5 separate regions of the Homo sapiens genome follow, and all the other regions are linked to region 1. The links are contacts of gene promoters, found by promoter capture Hi-C in blood cells and fetal thymus (Javierre and others, 2016). All regions are on one chromosome and are shown on one strand. Each heading gives the region's core, a stretch centred on a gene start or on the middle of the fragment in contact. The rest is flanking DNA. Distances are from core to core; before and after follow the strand shown. Region 1 holds the start of RARS2 (arginyl-tRNA synthetase 2, mitochondrial). Region 2 overlaps LOC101928911 (a long non-coding RNA gene). Region 3 overlaps LOC101928911 (a long non-coding RNA gene). Region 4 has its middle 72 kb from the start of AKIRIN2. Region 5 overlaps LOC101928911 (a long non-coding RNA gene).

The links. The method cuts DNA at HindIII sites, captures the fragments that hold promoters and counts their contacts. A CHiCAGO score of 5 or more calls a contact.
Region 2: a contact is called between a fragment that was not itself captured here and the fragment with the promoter of RARS2 in region 1, in 1 of 17 cell types (neutrophils). The highest score is 5.6, in neutrophils.
Region 3: a fragment that was not itself captured here is called in contact with the fragment with the promoter of RARS2 in region 1 in 1 of 17 cell types (neutrophils); the score reaches 5.1 in neutrophils.
Region 4: a fragment that was not itself captured here is called in contact with the fragment with the promoter of RARS2 in region 1 in 1 of 17 cell types (neutrophils); the score reaches 5.2 in neutrophils.
Region 5: a fragment that was not itself captured here is called in contact with the fragment with the promoter of RARS2 in region 1 in 1 of 17 cell types (neutrophils); the score reaches 5.5 in neutrophils.

Annotation. Positions count from the first base shown.
Region 1 is chr6:87,588,633-87,591,453 of GRCh38, forward strand. RARS2 (arginyl-tRNA synthetase 2, mitochondrial) reads right to left here and starts at 1,355. Exons shown (of 20, transcript NM_020320.5): 1 at 1,290-1,355. The coding sequence starts at 1,325. ORC3 (origin recognition complex subunit 3) reads left to right here and starts at 1,503. Exons shown (of 20, transcript NM_012381.4): 1 at 1,503-1,560. The coding sequence starts at 1,537. RefSeq lists enhancers at 485-1,446, 1,210-1,439, 2,820-2,821. The HindIII fragment of the contact is 3,839 bases long and covers 1-2,821 here.
Region 2 is chr6:87,815,535-87,818,507 of GRCh38, forward strand. The region is part of intron 2 of LOC101928911 (a long non-coding RNA gene); the gene reads left to right. Among named protein-coding and RNA genes, the nearest start is that of AKIRIN2, 110 kb to the left of the region's middle. The HindIII fragment of the contact is 775 bases long and covers 1,111-1,885 here.
Region 3 is chr6:87,843,205-87,846,345 of GRCh38, forward strand. All of the region lies in intron 2 of LOC101928911 (a long non-coding RNA gene), which reads left to right. It also overlaps the pseudogene RN7SL183P. Among named protein-coding and RNA genes, the nearest start is that of AKIRIN2, 140 kb to the left of the region's middle. The HindIII fragment of the contact is 5,348 bases long and covers 1-3,141 here.
Region 4 is chr6:87,772,512-87,775,644 of GRCh38, forward strand. No RefSeq gene overlaps it. Among named protein-coding and RNA genes, the nearest start is that of AKIRIN2, 72 kb to the left of the region's middle. The HindIII fragment of the contact is 2,476 bases long and covers 424-2,899 here.
Region 5 is chr6:87,799,312-87,802,384 of GRCh38, forward strand. The region is part of intron 2 of LOC101928911 (a long non-coding RNA gene); the gene reads left to right. Among named protein-coding and RNA genes, the nearest start is that of AKIRIN2, 99 kb to the left of the region's middle. RefSeq lists an enhancer at 553-622. The HindIII fragment of the contact is 4,103 bases long and covers 1-3,073 here.

The DNA.
Region 1 (2,821 bases), core at 105-2,604:
CCAAAGTGCTGGGATTATAGGCATGAACCACATGCCAGGCCTATTAGTTCTTCCAATAGAAAACCTCAATAGTTTATGCCTTAAGGCTTCTTGCACTCTTTGCTTTTCCTATCAATCTTAAACCGCTGTATCAGATCAGAGTCCAACCCTAATCAAGCCATCTTCCTCCAACACCCTCCTACCCTCTCCCTCTGAAAGACCAGCCTTAAGCCATACCCATCAGTAAAATCTGACCTTGCTTTCCCAGTTTAATACACTACCAAAGCTCTCAGTGGTGTTCTTCCTTATCCCAGTGAGCAATAAATTCAGCTGTCTTAACAAAATGTCATGTTGGTGATATTTGGCGAATTATCACCGGACAGGGCAGTACATCTATAAACATAAAGACAAGGCAGAGGGATTTCCCCACAAATGTCTAGAAATACTGTAAAAATGAGCCAAGATAAATTATACACCAGGCTAATTACGTCCACTAGTACATCCATTAATCAGAAGGAAATGGGTTAGCCAAGACCACAATAGAAAGTTTCCTTGCAAGGGTGGCCAATGAGTCTTAAAAATTCTTTTTGATTAATTCCACATTTATACTGCAATTTTGCCCAGCGCGGTGGCTCAGGCCTGTAATCCCGGCTCTTAGGGAAGCAGAGGAGGGAGGACAGCTTGAGCCCAGGAGTTTGAGGCCTGCCTGGGCAATACGGCGAGACCCCGTTCTCCACAAAAAGGAAAAACAAAACAAAGCAATTATATTGCAATTTTGTAAGCCCTTCCTCACAACAGAGCTGTTCAAATACGACCCTGAACCAAGAAAAACTGAGTCTCAGATAGCTCTTATATCTTTGGGCGTTACCAAAAACAATTCTAGGGTAGGCTGCCTAAGTGACTGCAAGAGAAATAAGCAGCTTTAAAATGAGGTCCTTCTGAAGAACAATCCAGATCCATCATCAATGTCACTAAAGTGTAAAGAACACTAACTTCTATGGGGTCTAATCATGGTCTAATGACTTGCCGCCACCCAGGTAAAGCATTCATAGCTGTGGGGTGGGAAGGAGAGAAGAAAGCACCAGGTACCTTTCAAAGTTTACTTTTCACCGAGACAAACTGATCCCAGCCGACGCTCCACAGGACTTCTGAAGCTCCACCAGCTCCAGAGAAGGGGGAGGAGGTGGTAGAAACTAACAGGATTCCGTGGGACCCACCCTCCAGCTGACTGAGGACTGGCCCGCAGCGGTGAAAGGCCTTTGGGGTCCCTAGCTCCTCAGGGACTCCTCTGCGCGCTCCGGGATCCATACCTGGCAAGCAATAGCGCGGCGAAAGCCGCACGCCATGTCCACCTCTACGGAAGTGCGCCGCAGTCCGCCAGTTCCGGCCTCGCCCCACCTCCTTATACGACCCGCCTCCCCGCGCCGGAAACCCGCCCCGGAGGGTGATGCCAGCCAATCAAGGAGCCGTGTGGCTCGCCACTAACCTCTGCCCTGCAGCCGCGAGGGCGCGCGGGAAATCCCGAGTGCATCTGGAATACGCAGAGTCAGTAAGACCATGGCTACGTCCTCGATGTCTAAGGTATGTGGTGGCCGATGCGCACTGTGGCTCTACCGCTGCCTCATTCCCCTTTGAAGAAGGGATGAAGCCGAGGTTACGTAGGCATCCCTTCCCTGGCTGGAGAGGAGGGAGGGAGCGGCGTACTGAGCTGAGGCGTCCTTGCTCCAGATCAGTTGAGGCCAACTTTGCTTGGGGAGCGAGGACGCGGATCTGCCTTGTGGTATGGCTAGGAGGATTTTTAAGTTCTGGTTGGTGGAGGTCGGATGTCCTGATGATGTGGCCCAGTCTCTCATTTTTCCATCTCACAAATACTGTGCGCCAAGCACTCCGTTAGGTACCAAGATGCAGTGGTAAACAAAACAGATTCAGTTTCTGCAGTCAAGAAAGTCGGTAAACATAGATAAACTGACGATCACAAATTTTAAGTGTTAGCAAGGAAAAGAGTTCTAGGCAGACAACAGAAGAGTGGGAAGAACCTAATATAGGTTGTCGGGGGTTAGCGGAGGCTTTTTGGAGAAAGTGACCCTTTCGCTGAGACCTGAAAAATGAGTAGAAGTTAGGTTAAGGATTAGGGCGAGGAGGGCAGAGAGAACAGCATGTTTCTTCGGCCCAGAAGATAGAAATAAAATGGCATATTAGAGGAATTTAAAAATCATAATCAGAAAGTAGACAAAGAGTGGGAGCGTCATGAAAAATGAGAATGAAAAAGTAATGTGGATGCGGGTGTGTGTGGTGGGATATCTTATAGACCTCCTCATGTTGGCTACCTAGATGGCAAGAAATTGCAAGACATAGTGTAGTTGGTAAGAAGATAAGCCCTAGAGCTGTATTGTCCAATGTGTTAGTCACTCACCACATGTGGCTATTTAAATTTGAGTTAAAATAAAGTAAGATTAAATAAAAATTCAGTTTCTCCGTTGCACTAACCACATTTCAAGTGCTCAATCATCACATGTGGCTGCAGCTACCATTTTAGATAGTGCAGATATAGGACATTTCTATCATTACAGAAAGTTCTGTTGGACAGCGCTGTTCTGGACCACAAAAAGTAAGACCTTGAGTTCTATTGTAAGTGCAGCGGGAAGCCCCTGAAGTTAAGCTGTCTGAGAAAGCTGAAAAATGCACATGAAGAAGCTACATTCTCCCTATGTTAAAACAATGGATTGATGAAGAAGGCTATGTCATGGATCTGATTTTTTATTTTGATTAAAACGGTTTATGAGAAGCAGTGCTTTTAAAGACTACATCTCAAGGAAAAAGGACAAGCCCTGGGGTTTAAGGT
Region 2 (2,973 bases), core at 248-2,747, 230 kb after region 1:
ACTTTACTTTTGGTACCAATTACTGTATTGTTCAAGATTCTTAGTTGTAGGCAACAGAATACACATTGGCTAATAGGGCATGACCTGGAAGTTGCACTACTTATGCTCACATCCCATTTGCCATTACCTAGTCACATGATCACACCTAGTTGCTAGGGATTGTGGGAAACGTGGTCTTTAACTAGATAGCTGTATACACAGATAAAACTTTTATTACTATAGAAAGAGTGAATGAATACTGGGGAGACAATCAATGGTGTTTCTGTTAACTAAGTTGAGGAATGCAAGAAGAGAAATGAGTTAAGTTGGGAGGCTGTGAGGAGGAAGAAAATAAGTTTGGCTTGGGAAGTGTTAAGTTAAAATGCTTGTGGGACATCTAGTATGAGATGTTCAGTAAGATGGTTAGGGAAAAGGAATCTTGCCTAGAGAGAGTTTAGAATAAGCAAAGAAGGCCAATGTTTGAGACTGAAGTGGAGGAAGAGGAGTCTCTGGAAGAAACCAGGAAAGAGCAGAGAAGTTGGAGGAGACTTAGGAGAAGGCAGTGTCTCAGAAGTCTCTTGAGTTCTTAATGAAGCTTAACGAAGTAGACTGTTATTAATTAATTAATTAATTAGTTTATATTTTTGAGATGGAGTTTCACTCTTGTTGACCAGGCTGGAGTACAATGGTGCAATCTTGGCTCACTGCAACCTCTGCCTCCTGGGTTCAAGTGATTCTCCTGCCTCAGCCTCCTGAGTAGCTGGGGTTACAGGCATGTGCTACAATGCCTGGCTAATTTTGTATTTTTAATAGAGACGGGGCTTCACCACATTGGTCAGGCTGGTCTTGAACTCCTGACCTCAGGTGATCTGTCCACCTTGGCCTCCCAAAGTGCTGGGATTATAGGTGTGAGCCACCATGCCAGCCCGATACTGTTATAAAGAATGACATGCTGCCAAGAGGACAAGTGGGAGACTGAGAAGAGGTCATTTGATTTGTACATTGTTTATTCAGAGGAGTGGTGGGGAGCTGAAGACAAATTATAGTGTGCTTAGTTGTGGATAGGAGGTGAAGTGGGGCTGTGAAGGGTAGAGAGGTAGCCAAAATACGGCAGCAGGTCAGTTGAAAGAAAGCTTATTTTGGGCACAGAAACTCTTGATCATGTCTGTAGGCAGATGGCATAGATCTAAGGTAGGAGAGATTAAAATTCAGAGAAGAGAGGGGAAACTATGGCTGTGATATTTGTGGTGTGGATGGGGTGATATAAAGACACAGTGGGATGGGTCATTAAGAGGAGTAGGGCTGCCTCTTCGGGACAAGAAGGAAGATAACAATTGGTAAAGGAGATGTAGATATGTTAAAAACTTGCAAAGAAATTCTACAAGTCTTTCAAGTAATTTCTACTATGACTTGAATTGTGGAGCTTGGTGCTATGCATTTTCAATGTTTATTAAGCACTCAGATATACATGGAGACCTGGGTTTAAGCAGCTCAATTCCCCAGCACAAGCTCCAGCTTTGAGCTAAGTATGATCTTCTGTTTTGAAGCTCTGAAAGATGGATATTTATAAAAGGAGAAGCGAGGGACATCTCAGAACAAATTCCAGTATGTACAAAAGGGCAGAAGCAGCAGCAATGAGTGTTTTTCAGGAGGCATCTTGGTTTATCATACCATAGCAGCTGGCCCTCAAAGGGCTTCGAGTGCCAGGGACTCACTGACCCTGAGACACAGTAAGGAAAAAATGGAGACCCTCCCAACAAATAATCTCAGCAATAGATTAAATTTGTAAAATGGAACTTAAAAATTTTCTGGTGTGGATGGTAAAATAATTATTGGAGGCCATCAGAGAGTTTCTATGACTCACTGTTTAATGATTTCCAGTAGGATCACAAAGGATTTAAAAGTAAGCTTGAAGCTATTGAGAACAAATAGTGTGCCAAGAATATCAGAGTGGTTTGGGTTTTGGACTCTATGAAAACTGTATTGTTAATTTAGAAAAAAATAAACCCACACTGGATTCCTAAGGCTCTGGAAGTCTGTTATTTTCCTAATGTTGTCTTGTCTCAGCAAGATATTTGACATTCAGAAAAATGCTAAGCAGAGAGAGATAGCTGTCTAAAATCTTGTTGACCAGATCATTTCAGAAGAGTTTTGCAGAGTTGAGAAGCAAAAACTTGAGGAGATTTGGGTGAATTGCTGAGTAGACAGCAGTGAGAAAAGCAGAGTAAGGTGTAAGGAAAGGAACAGGAATGGCGGCCCTTTCCCCAAACCCCTGATGCATAGTTGTTTTTTTTTTTTTCAAAAAGGGCCATAATTATTTCCCTCTCTAAATCCATGACCCTTTGCAATGTAGCTGCAGCTACTCCCATGCAAAGATGATGTCTATTTCCTTGACCCCTGAATTTGGCTGAACTTGTGACATGCATTGGCCAATAGAATGCTAGGGAGGTGAACTAAGCCACTTTTGAGCTTAGTCTTCAAGGGGCCTTATGTACTTTTGCTCTTCCTCTTGGAACCATGAGAGGCATTCAAGAACAAGTCTAGGCTAGCCTGCAGGATGATGATGGGTCAGATATCCCTGTAGCCTCTGTTGACCACCTTAGCCTCAGAAATAGAGCCACCTAGCTAGGAAGCAGCATGACGGTAAACCAGTGGAGTCCAACCCAAATTGCTGACCAATCCACAGAACTATGAACTAAATAAATGGCTGTTGTTTTAAGCCACTAGGATTTGGAGTAGTGATTACATACTGAAAGCTAACTAATACACAACTTTGGGCTTGGTAATGTGATGAAGTAGGGGAAGAGTACGGAAGATGAGAGATGGAACTTGGGAAAACATGCCATCATGAATTGTGCTCTGATATAAACATGGAAGCAAAATTAAAATTGACTGCAGCACTGCAGAGCAATTCCTGTAACTGTGTGTCTCCAGGCTTCTCCCTCCTCCACCTTCTTGTATCAGTACACTGTCTTCCTCCAGCACACATAATGA
Region 3 (3,141 bases), core at 159-2,658, 250 kb after region 1:
ATTAATTTTGACCACTTGTACTAAGTTCCCATATATACATAGGTCTCTTTCTGTACTTTCTATTCCGTTTCCTTAACCCATTTATCCATCTTTGTGCCAATATCCCACTGTCTTAGTTACTATAGCTTTATAATAAATTTTGTTACCTAGCAGGGAAGAGCTCTTTGCTCAGAATTATCTTGGCTTTTCTTAGACCTCTAATTTTCTGTATAAATTAAAGATTTACCTTGTCACATGAAAAATCTTGCTGGGATTTTGACTGGACTTGAATTATGTTTGTAGATTAATTTGGAGGATAATTATCTTTTCGATACTGGCTCTTTTCATCATGTATCTACCCATCTAGTTTTTTTACACATGTGGTTTTTAAATATTATTTTCTTTTTAAAAGTGAATTAAAGCTAATTAATTTTAAATTATCTATATTGTAGAACTAAAATAAAATTTACTAACACTATATCCTTGCAATTTTGTTAACAAATAAAAATAAAACTTGTTAATTAAGAACAAAACTGAAAACAGAAAAAATTTTTATAAAAAATATAGATATAGGCAATAACAGCCAAACAAAGAATTTTTTTGAATTTTTATCTTACTGAACTTGCTGAATACTTATGAAATTAATTAAAATTTGGAATCACTGGCTAGAAATATACACAATATACACAGGAGTCACTGGAGCCTTCATATCATCAATATCCATCAGGGTTCATACTTCTAATTGTCTTTTTCTTTTGGATTCGGATCCACATAAGTACACATATTATCATTAGTATTATTTTTTTTTTTTTTGAGACGGAATCTCGCTCTGTCGCCCAGGCTGGAGTGCAGTGGCGTGAACTCGGCTCACTGCAAGCTCCGCCTCCCCGGGTTCACGCCATTCTCCTGCCTCAGCTTCCCAAGTAGCTGGGACTACAGGCGCTCGCCACCACGCCCGGCTGATCTGTATTTTTAGTAGAGACTGGGTTTCACCATGTTAGCCAGGACGGTCTTGATTTCCTGACCTCATGATCCGCCCACCTCGGCCACCAAAAGTGCTGGGATTACAGACGTGAGCCACAGCGCCCGGCCTCGTACACATATTATTGGCTGAAATGTCTCTTACTTTTTTTTTTTTTTTTTTTAAATCTATAGGTTTCCCGTCCAGCTTTTCTTTTTTTTCTTTATAATTTATTTGTTAAAGAAACCAGGTTGTTGGCCGGGCGTGGTGTCTCACGCCTGTAATCCCAGCACTTTGGGAGTCCAAGGCGGGAGGATCACGAGGTCAGGAGATCGAGATCATCCTGATTAACACGGTGAAACCCCATCTCTACTGAAAATACAAAAACAAAATTAGCCGGGCGTGGTGGCGGGCGCCTCTAGTCCCAGTTACTCGGGAGGCTGAGGGGGCAGAATGGTGTGAACCCGGGAGGCAGAGGTTGCAGTGACCCAAGATTGCGCCACCGCACTCCAGCCTGGGAGACAGAGCGAGACTCCGTCTCAAAAAAAAAAAAAAAAAAAAAAAAAAAAAAAAAGAAAAAGGAAAAGAAAAAAAAAAAAAAAGAAACCAGGTTGTTTGTCCTGTATAGTTTTCAGCCTGGATTTTGCTGATTGCATCCCAAGCATGTTGTTTACCATGCGCATCTGTCCCCTGTACATCCTGTTAGTTAGTAGTTAAATCAGGAGATTTGACCCAATTCACCTTCAGGTATTTGGGCAAGGCAAGTTTGTAGGTGGCATTGTGTTAGGAGCCCTATAATATCTGCTGTGTCTCTTTGTGACATTATTATTTGTTAGTATAAAATGTCTAGCTCCATTAATTCATTAGGGATTGGAGAATGCTGATATTCTAATTCTATCATTTTTGTTTGTTAGCTAGAATATTTTGTTTGTTAGTTTGATTGATTGTTAGCTAGAATACTTTCATAAAGAGAGATTCATTGTCATCTACTTTCGGTTATCCATTGATACAACTCATATAGGAAAGGGGATACATGCTTGATTTTCTTCCCTTTATTGACCAATTCTCTAAACAAAATTTGGTTCCTTAGCATCCTCCAATAGTGGCAATTTGTTTTCTTCTTTCTTCCCCATAGTATGTTAGTAAACTCATGGATTTAAGAATTTTTAATGTTTCAATGTGTTGCCATTATTATCCTCATTGACACTCAAATTTTCCCTTCTTTGGCCAGTGGGAGCCTCTTCAGGTATATTCCTGGGTCCTTTTGACACTCCAATAGTCTTTGATAACATTATTGCTATCTGTGTTGACAAGATGTTTCAGGACCAATTTCTAACTTTCTGGTCCCAGACCTGGAATCAAACATTTATCCAAAGAGCCCTGGTTCAGTTTAGTGTAAAATTATATTTGGAGATAAAAATATGGTGTTAGGATACTCATTGCTACTGAAGTCATCATTATTTTGGGCAGTTTCAGTGGGCAGAGCTAGGAAATATAGAAAGAAAGCTGGCCATGGTGGCACATGCTTGTAGTCTCAGCTATTCAGGAGGCTGAGGCAGGCAGGTCCCTTGAGCCCAGGAGTTCTGGGCTGAAATGTGATATGCCAATTGGGGGTCCACACTAAATACAGCATTAATATGGTGACCTCCTGGGAGCAGGGGACCACCAACTTGCTTAAGGAGGGGTGAACCGGCCCGGGTTGGAAACGGAGCAGGTCAAAACTCTGGTTCTGTCAGTAGTAAGATTGCCCCTGTGAAGGGCCACTGCACTCCACCCTGGGCAACATAGCAAGAACCCATCTCTAGAAAAAAAAAAAAAAAGGAAGACAGAAAGAGATCAGATCTGAGAGAGAGAAAATTAGGAGCTCGTAATGATATTTCCAATTCAAAATGAGGAAACAGACCTGATCCAACGTCTATACTGTAGATATACATCTATAGTGAAATATCTTTCACTATATTTTTATATTAACCCCTCCTTTTCCATTCCATTGGCATCACAACAACCAGGCCCTTGACATCCTATGCTTGAATAATAAGACAGTTTTCTAACTGGTTTTCTTCTATCTTGACCTCCCTGCCTCCAAGCCATTCTACATTTCATAACTAGATAGACAATCTTAGAATACCTATGTGACCTTGTTGTTTCCCCATTCATAAAAAATCTTTAGTATTTCTTACTGTCCAAATGATAAAATCCAT
Region 4 (3,133 bases), core at 412-2,911, 180 kb after region 1:
TAGAAGTTTCTGACTAGAAAACAGCTAAATCTCAATTAGAAAAGTGAGCTTTGGGGCATTTTAACCTGGTGTATTCCCATCCTCTACTCTTCAGTCTCATGGCAGCCTGAGAACTAAGAGCTCACAATCACAATGAAAACCAGCAGTGTGGTAGCCATTGGAGTAGGCAGAACAGAGTTGTAGCGCCTTTAATGCCTCACTCAAAGAAAATTGTCATTATCTGATCCATCTGGTGGTTCTCTGGAAGACCTATTTACAAGACTGTCTGTATTTAACCTAACTTGGGGCTGATTCAGTGTCACTGCAAAAGACCTTTTCCCCCTGAGATGGGTTTTTGTTGAAAATATTTAAACGTGATTGTTTAGCTATTTGGCTGCCTGAGGTAATGGATAACAGCTGGGGCAAACAATAGGTTAAACAAAAAGCTTAAAAGGAAAAACTGAGGAGTGAGATGTTTACAGGGATTTTGAAAAGCCCTGGCATATTTCCGGGGAATTTAGAAGGTCATGTGCATGTGTAGGGCTCTGTGCATGCTAAGAGTTTTAGAGCAAGTAGCTAGGCAGACAGGAGCAGGGCAGGAGTGGGCCTCCCACCCCACCAGGAATGTCAGGCAACCATCAGGTGATGGTCAGATAGTTGTTGAACTGTCTGTCTAAAATAATAATTGGTTGCAGCCAGTGCCAGGGAAAGGCTGGCTCCCAATAGACACAAAACACCTGAAACTGGTGATCAGCAGCTTCCTGATAAGATCTCAGGAGCTGGGCGAGTAGGCTCAAGCATGCGCACTAAGGGGCAAAATGATGAAGTTTAGCTGGTATATGACCTTCCTTTAGGAACACTTGACTGGTAAGGGAAAAATGCCTCAAATAAGCATGTGCACAACTTTAGTAAAGACACTGTGCATGTGGCCCCTCCCAAGTGCTGGCAGGCCACTGCACATGCAGACAGCCCACACTAAGGGAAAAATCAAGGGAGAAGAGACGTAAAACCCCAGAAGCATGCCAACATACAACCCCCAAGTCAAAGGTCAAACAGTGCACTTGGATCTCTGAAGTCTCCTGCTTGTCCTCCTTTTTGTTCCTGCTCTAAAATTTTTAAATAAACGTTCACTCTCGCTCCTGCTCTAAAACTTGCCTTGGTCTGCCTTATATCCCTCAGGTGAATTATTTCGTCTGAGGAGGCAAGAATTGAGGTGCTGCAGATTTGTATGGATTTGCTGCTGCTAACAAGAGCTGTGTGTATGCTCGGGAAAGACCTGAGAAAACCTTAAGCTGTCACCTCTGGCTGCCCTTGAGGCCCTACAGAAAGTGAAGCCTAAGGCAAAGTTGTCAACTGCCTGGCTAAATATTGAAGGCAGCCCCAATATGCACACAGAGCCCTTCAGCAAAGACTGGGAGAAGTATCCATTCCAAAAGTGTAAGAAAATCTCTGTCCAATCACTAGAGGAACACTAAGCTAACTGAGCAGAGACTTACCAGCCATACATAAAAAAGAATACAAATTTTATTTTATTTTATTTTTTTGAGACAGAGTCTCACCCTTTCACCCAGGCTGGAGTGCAGTGGCATGATCTTGGCTCACTGCAACCTCTGCCTCCCAGGTTCAAGTGATTGTCCTGCCTCAGCCGCCCGAGTAGCTAGGACTACAGGTGCCAGCCACCACACCTGGCTAATTTTTTATACTTTTGGTGGAGATGGGGTTTCATCATGTTGGCCAGGCTGGTCTCGAACTGCTGACCTCAGATGATCCACCCGCCTTGGCCTCCCAAAGTGCTGGGATTACAGGTGTGAGGCATCATGCCCGGCCTCAAGAATACAAATATTAAAAAATTAGTTCTTAAAAGTCACTAAACAACAGCAAATAGAAACCAGCAACAACAAATCCTGAGCAGGGCAAAGAATCTAATTTCCAGAGTTACCACATTTTAAATTTATATTTTATTTATTTGTATTTTATATGTCTAGTTTAGTGGTTAACAAATATTTCTAGACTTTCAAATAAAAAGTATGGCCCAAACACAGGAAAAAAAAAGTAGTCAACAGAAATGCTCCCTGAAGAAGCTCAGGCACAGGACTTTAGACTAAAGACTTTAAATCAGCTTTTCTTTTCTTTTTTTTTTGCATCCCTGGGTGGGCATGATCTAAACCACCTACTTTAAAATATGTTCAGAGAACTATAGTAAAGTATGGTAATGATGTCTCACCAAGTATAGAATATCAATAAACAGATAGAGATTATTTAGAAAAAGAACAAAATATAAATTTTGGATGTTAGAAGTATAACTGAAATGAAACTTTCATTAGAAGAGCTCAACAGAAGATCTGAGTAGGTAGAAGAAAGAATCAGCAAATGTGATGATCAGCTGAAATTTTTCTGTTTGATGAACAGAAAGAAAAAGGAATAAAGAAAATGAGCAGAGCCTTAGAAACCTGTAGGACACAATCAAGCATGCCAACATATGCATAATGGGAGTTCCAAAAGGAGAGAAGAGAGAGAACTATGCAAAAGAATACTTGATAAAATAATGTCTGAAAACTTCCCAAATTTGGTGAAGAGTCTGTAGCAGATACAATGACCTAGGAGCCAAAGAGTTTTTATTTATTTCATTTATTTATTTTTTCGAGACAGTGTCTCACTCTGTTGCCCAGGCTGGACTGCAATGGCTCACTGCAACCTCTGCCTCCCAGGTTCAAGCAATTTTCCCACCTCAGCCTCCTGAGTAGCTGGGACTACAGGCACACACCACCACACCTGGCTAATTTTTGTATGTTTAGTAGAGTTGGGGTTTCACAAGTTGGCCAGGCTGGTCTCAAACTCCTGAACTCAAGTAATGCACCTATCTTGGCCCCCACAAAGTGCTGAAATTACAGGTATGAGCCACCATGCCCGGCCATCAGAAAGCTTTTAGTTTGCAAGAACCAGGGTTTGGAAGGACAGACGTGCCCCCTCCATCATTTCTTTCCTTTTTTTTTTTTTTTTTTCTTGAGACGAAGTCTTGCTCTGTCACTCAGGCTGGAGTGAAATGGCACAATCTTGGTTTGCTGCAACCGCCGCCTCCTAGGTTCAAGCAATTCTCCTGTCTCAGCCTCCTGAGTAGCCGGGACTACAGGCACCCACCACCATGCCTGGCTGA
Region 5 (3,073 bases), core at 202-2,701, 210 kb after region 1:
GTTTCGATGAAACATAAGTGGTGCTTGTTTTCATTCCATGTAGCTAGTAAGCAGGGCATGTTCAGGGAAGAATCCCGTTCTTCTACTCATACTCCCTTTTGTCTTCCTCGGCTCCATGCCTCTTGTTTTAGAAATTAATTTATCTATGTAGCTCTGAGGAATAGAAATTAATTTGTTTTAGAAATTAATTTATCTATGTAGCTCTGAGGAATAGATATACATATCCCTCTAATGAGCCTTTGACAGAGGTGCCAATACAGCCCTAAAGGCAACAAGGGAAAACAGAGGACTGAGAAGTGGGAAAAGGAAACATGGAGAAAATGGGTGTCTACAGGTAACACTAATCTATGGTGATAGAGGCGAGATGAGTGGCATCAAATGGGAAGGGACACAAGGGAACGTTTTGGGGGAGTCAGAATATTTTAAATCTTGATCTCGGTGGTGGTTATGCGCATAAATTCATCAAGTGCACACTTAGATCTTTGCACTTTACTAAATGTAAGTTATACATAAAAAATGAAGTCTGCCAGGGAGTTTCGCTTTCACTGGCCATCTGTGCTTTACCATCAACTTCCTCCTTTATACTACAGGTGTTATATATATTCCATATACACATGATTTAAACCCCTCAATTATGATGCTATAATTTTTACTTTCAACAGTGATACGTATTTTAGAGAAAAATAATAAATATTGTTTTTTATATTTACCCATCTAGTTACCATTTGTAAAGAATGTTTTGGGAAATCCAAATTTCCATCTGCTATCATTTCCTGTTAGCCTGAAAAACTTTCTTAAGCATTTCTTGTGGTGCAGACAGCAAACATTGTTAGTTTTCATTTATAAGAAAACGTCTTTATTCTGCCTTCAGTCTTGAAGGATATTTTTACTAGATATAGAATCCTAGCTCTAGGTTTTACCATTTTTCCTTTTGCACCTTAAAAATATTTTACTCTTGGCCGGACACAGTGGCTCACACCTGTAATTCTAGCACTTTGGGAGGCAGAGGCGGGCAGATCACCTGAGGTCAGGTGTTTGAGACCAGCCTGGCCAACACGGTGAAATCCTGTCTCTACTAAAAATACAAAATTAGCTGGGCGTGGTGGTGTGTGCCTGTAATCCCAGCTATTCAGGAGGCTGAGGCAGGAGAATCACTTGAACCTGGGAGGTGGAGGTTGCAGTGAGCCGAGATCAAGCCATTGCACCCCAGGCTGGGTGACAAGAGCGAAACTCTGTCTCAAAAAAAAAAAAATTTTTTTTTTACTCTCTTCTGGCTTCTTTTTTTTTTTTTTCCTAATGAGAAATCAGCTATCATCTGTATTGTTTTCCTGTATATAATGAGTGCTTTACTCTGATGCTTCCAAGATTTTTTTTTTTGTCTTTGGGTTTCAACAGTTTGGGTAAGATGTACATAGGTATAGTTTTCTTTGTATTTATCCTGCTTGGGGTTTACTGAATCTTTAAATGTATGTCCTTTAGCAAGTTTGGTAATCTTCCTCTCATTATTTCTTCAGAAATTTTTTGTGTCCCATTCCTTCTCTTTTCTCTTCCTCTGGGACTATAATTACGTGTATGTTATACATGTTATTCTTTGCTTTCTCACAAGTCCTGGAGGCTCTCCTCTTTTTCAATTTTTTTTCTGTTTTTATTTATATTTTTAATTTATTTCTGAGACAGAGTTTCATTCTTGTTGCCCAGGCTGGAGTCTAGTGGCACAATCTCGGCTGACTGCAACCTCCGCCTCCCGGGTTCAAGCGATTCTCCTGTCTCAGCCTCCAGAGTAGCTGGAATTACAGGCACTCACCACCATGCCCGGCTAATTTTGTATTTTTAGCAGAGACGGGGTTTCACCATGTTGGCCAGGCTGGTCTTGAACTCCTGACCACAGGTGATCTGCCCGCCTCGGCCTCCCAAAGTGTTGGGATTACAGGCATGAGCCACCACCCCCAGACTTTTCTGTTTTTAGATTGGGTAATTCTTTTGATCTATCTTCACATTTACTGACCCTTTCCTTTGTCATTTCCAATTCATTGTTAAGCCCATCAGTGAGTTTTTAAAATTGCAGATATTATATTTTGTAATTCTAGTATTTTCATTTGGTTCTTTTCTATTTCTCTGTTGTGATTTTCTTTCTGCTCATTTGTTATGAGTATATTTCCTTTATATATTTGAGCGTAATTATAATGGCTGTTTTAAAACTTTTGTTTCTTAATTCCAACATATAAATCATCTTAGGAGTCTCCATTGATTGTCATTTTTCTTGTATATGAGTCATATTTTCCCATTTTTTCTTATGTCTTGTAATTTTGGATCATGTTGTGCATATTGTGAATGATATAGAGACTCTGCATTCTCTTATGTTACTCTAAAGAGTATTGATTTTGTGTTTTAGCAGGCAATTAACCTAGTTGATTTCAGTTTCTAAATTCTTTTCCTCTGTGGTGTGGCAACTGAAATCTGTTTAGTTCTTTTAGCTCGAGCTAGATTTCTTGGTATCTATCCAACATATGTATATTTTAGAGGCTGGCCAGAGATTTGGGCAGAGTTTATATGTAGAATTTGAGTCTCCCTTCTGCGGCTATTTCCTTTCCACTATTTCTCCTTTCACTTCTCTGCTGTTATTGCTTTGAATTTTGTCTTCCGATTTCTTAGCTAGCAAGGTTTCTGTGCAAGTTTTAGCCACCTTTTGGTGGGACCAATTGGGAGTACTCTCAGACAAAGAAATAGAAAAAATTGGCAAATATCCAGTGGGTTTTTTGTTTGTTTGTTGGTTTGTTTTTTGTTTTTGTTTTTTTTTTCAGACAGAGTCTCACCCTGTTGCCCAGGCTGGAAGCACAGTGGCATGATCATAGCTCTATGTAATCTTCAACTCCTGGGCTCAAGTGATCCTCCTGCCTCAGCCTCCCAAGTAGCTAGGACTACAGGTACATGCCACCATGCCTGGATAATATTTTTATTTTTATATATTTTTTGGAGAGATGGGGTCTTTCTACGTTTCCCAGGCTGGTCTCAAAATTCTGACCTCAAGCCATCCTAGTGTCTTGGCCTTCCAATGCACTGGGGTTATAAGCAC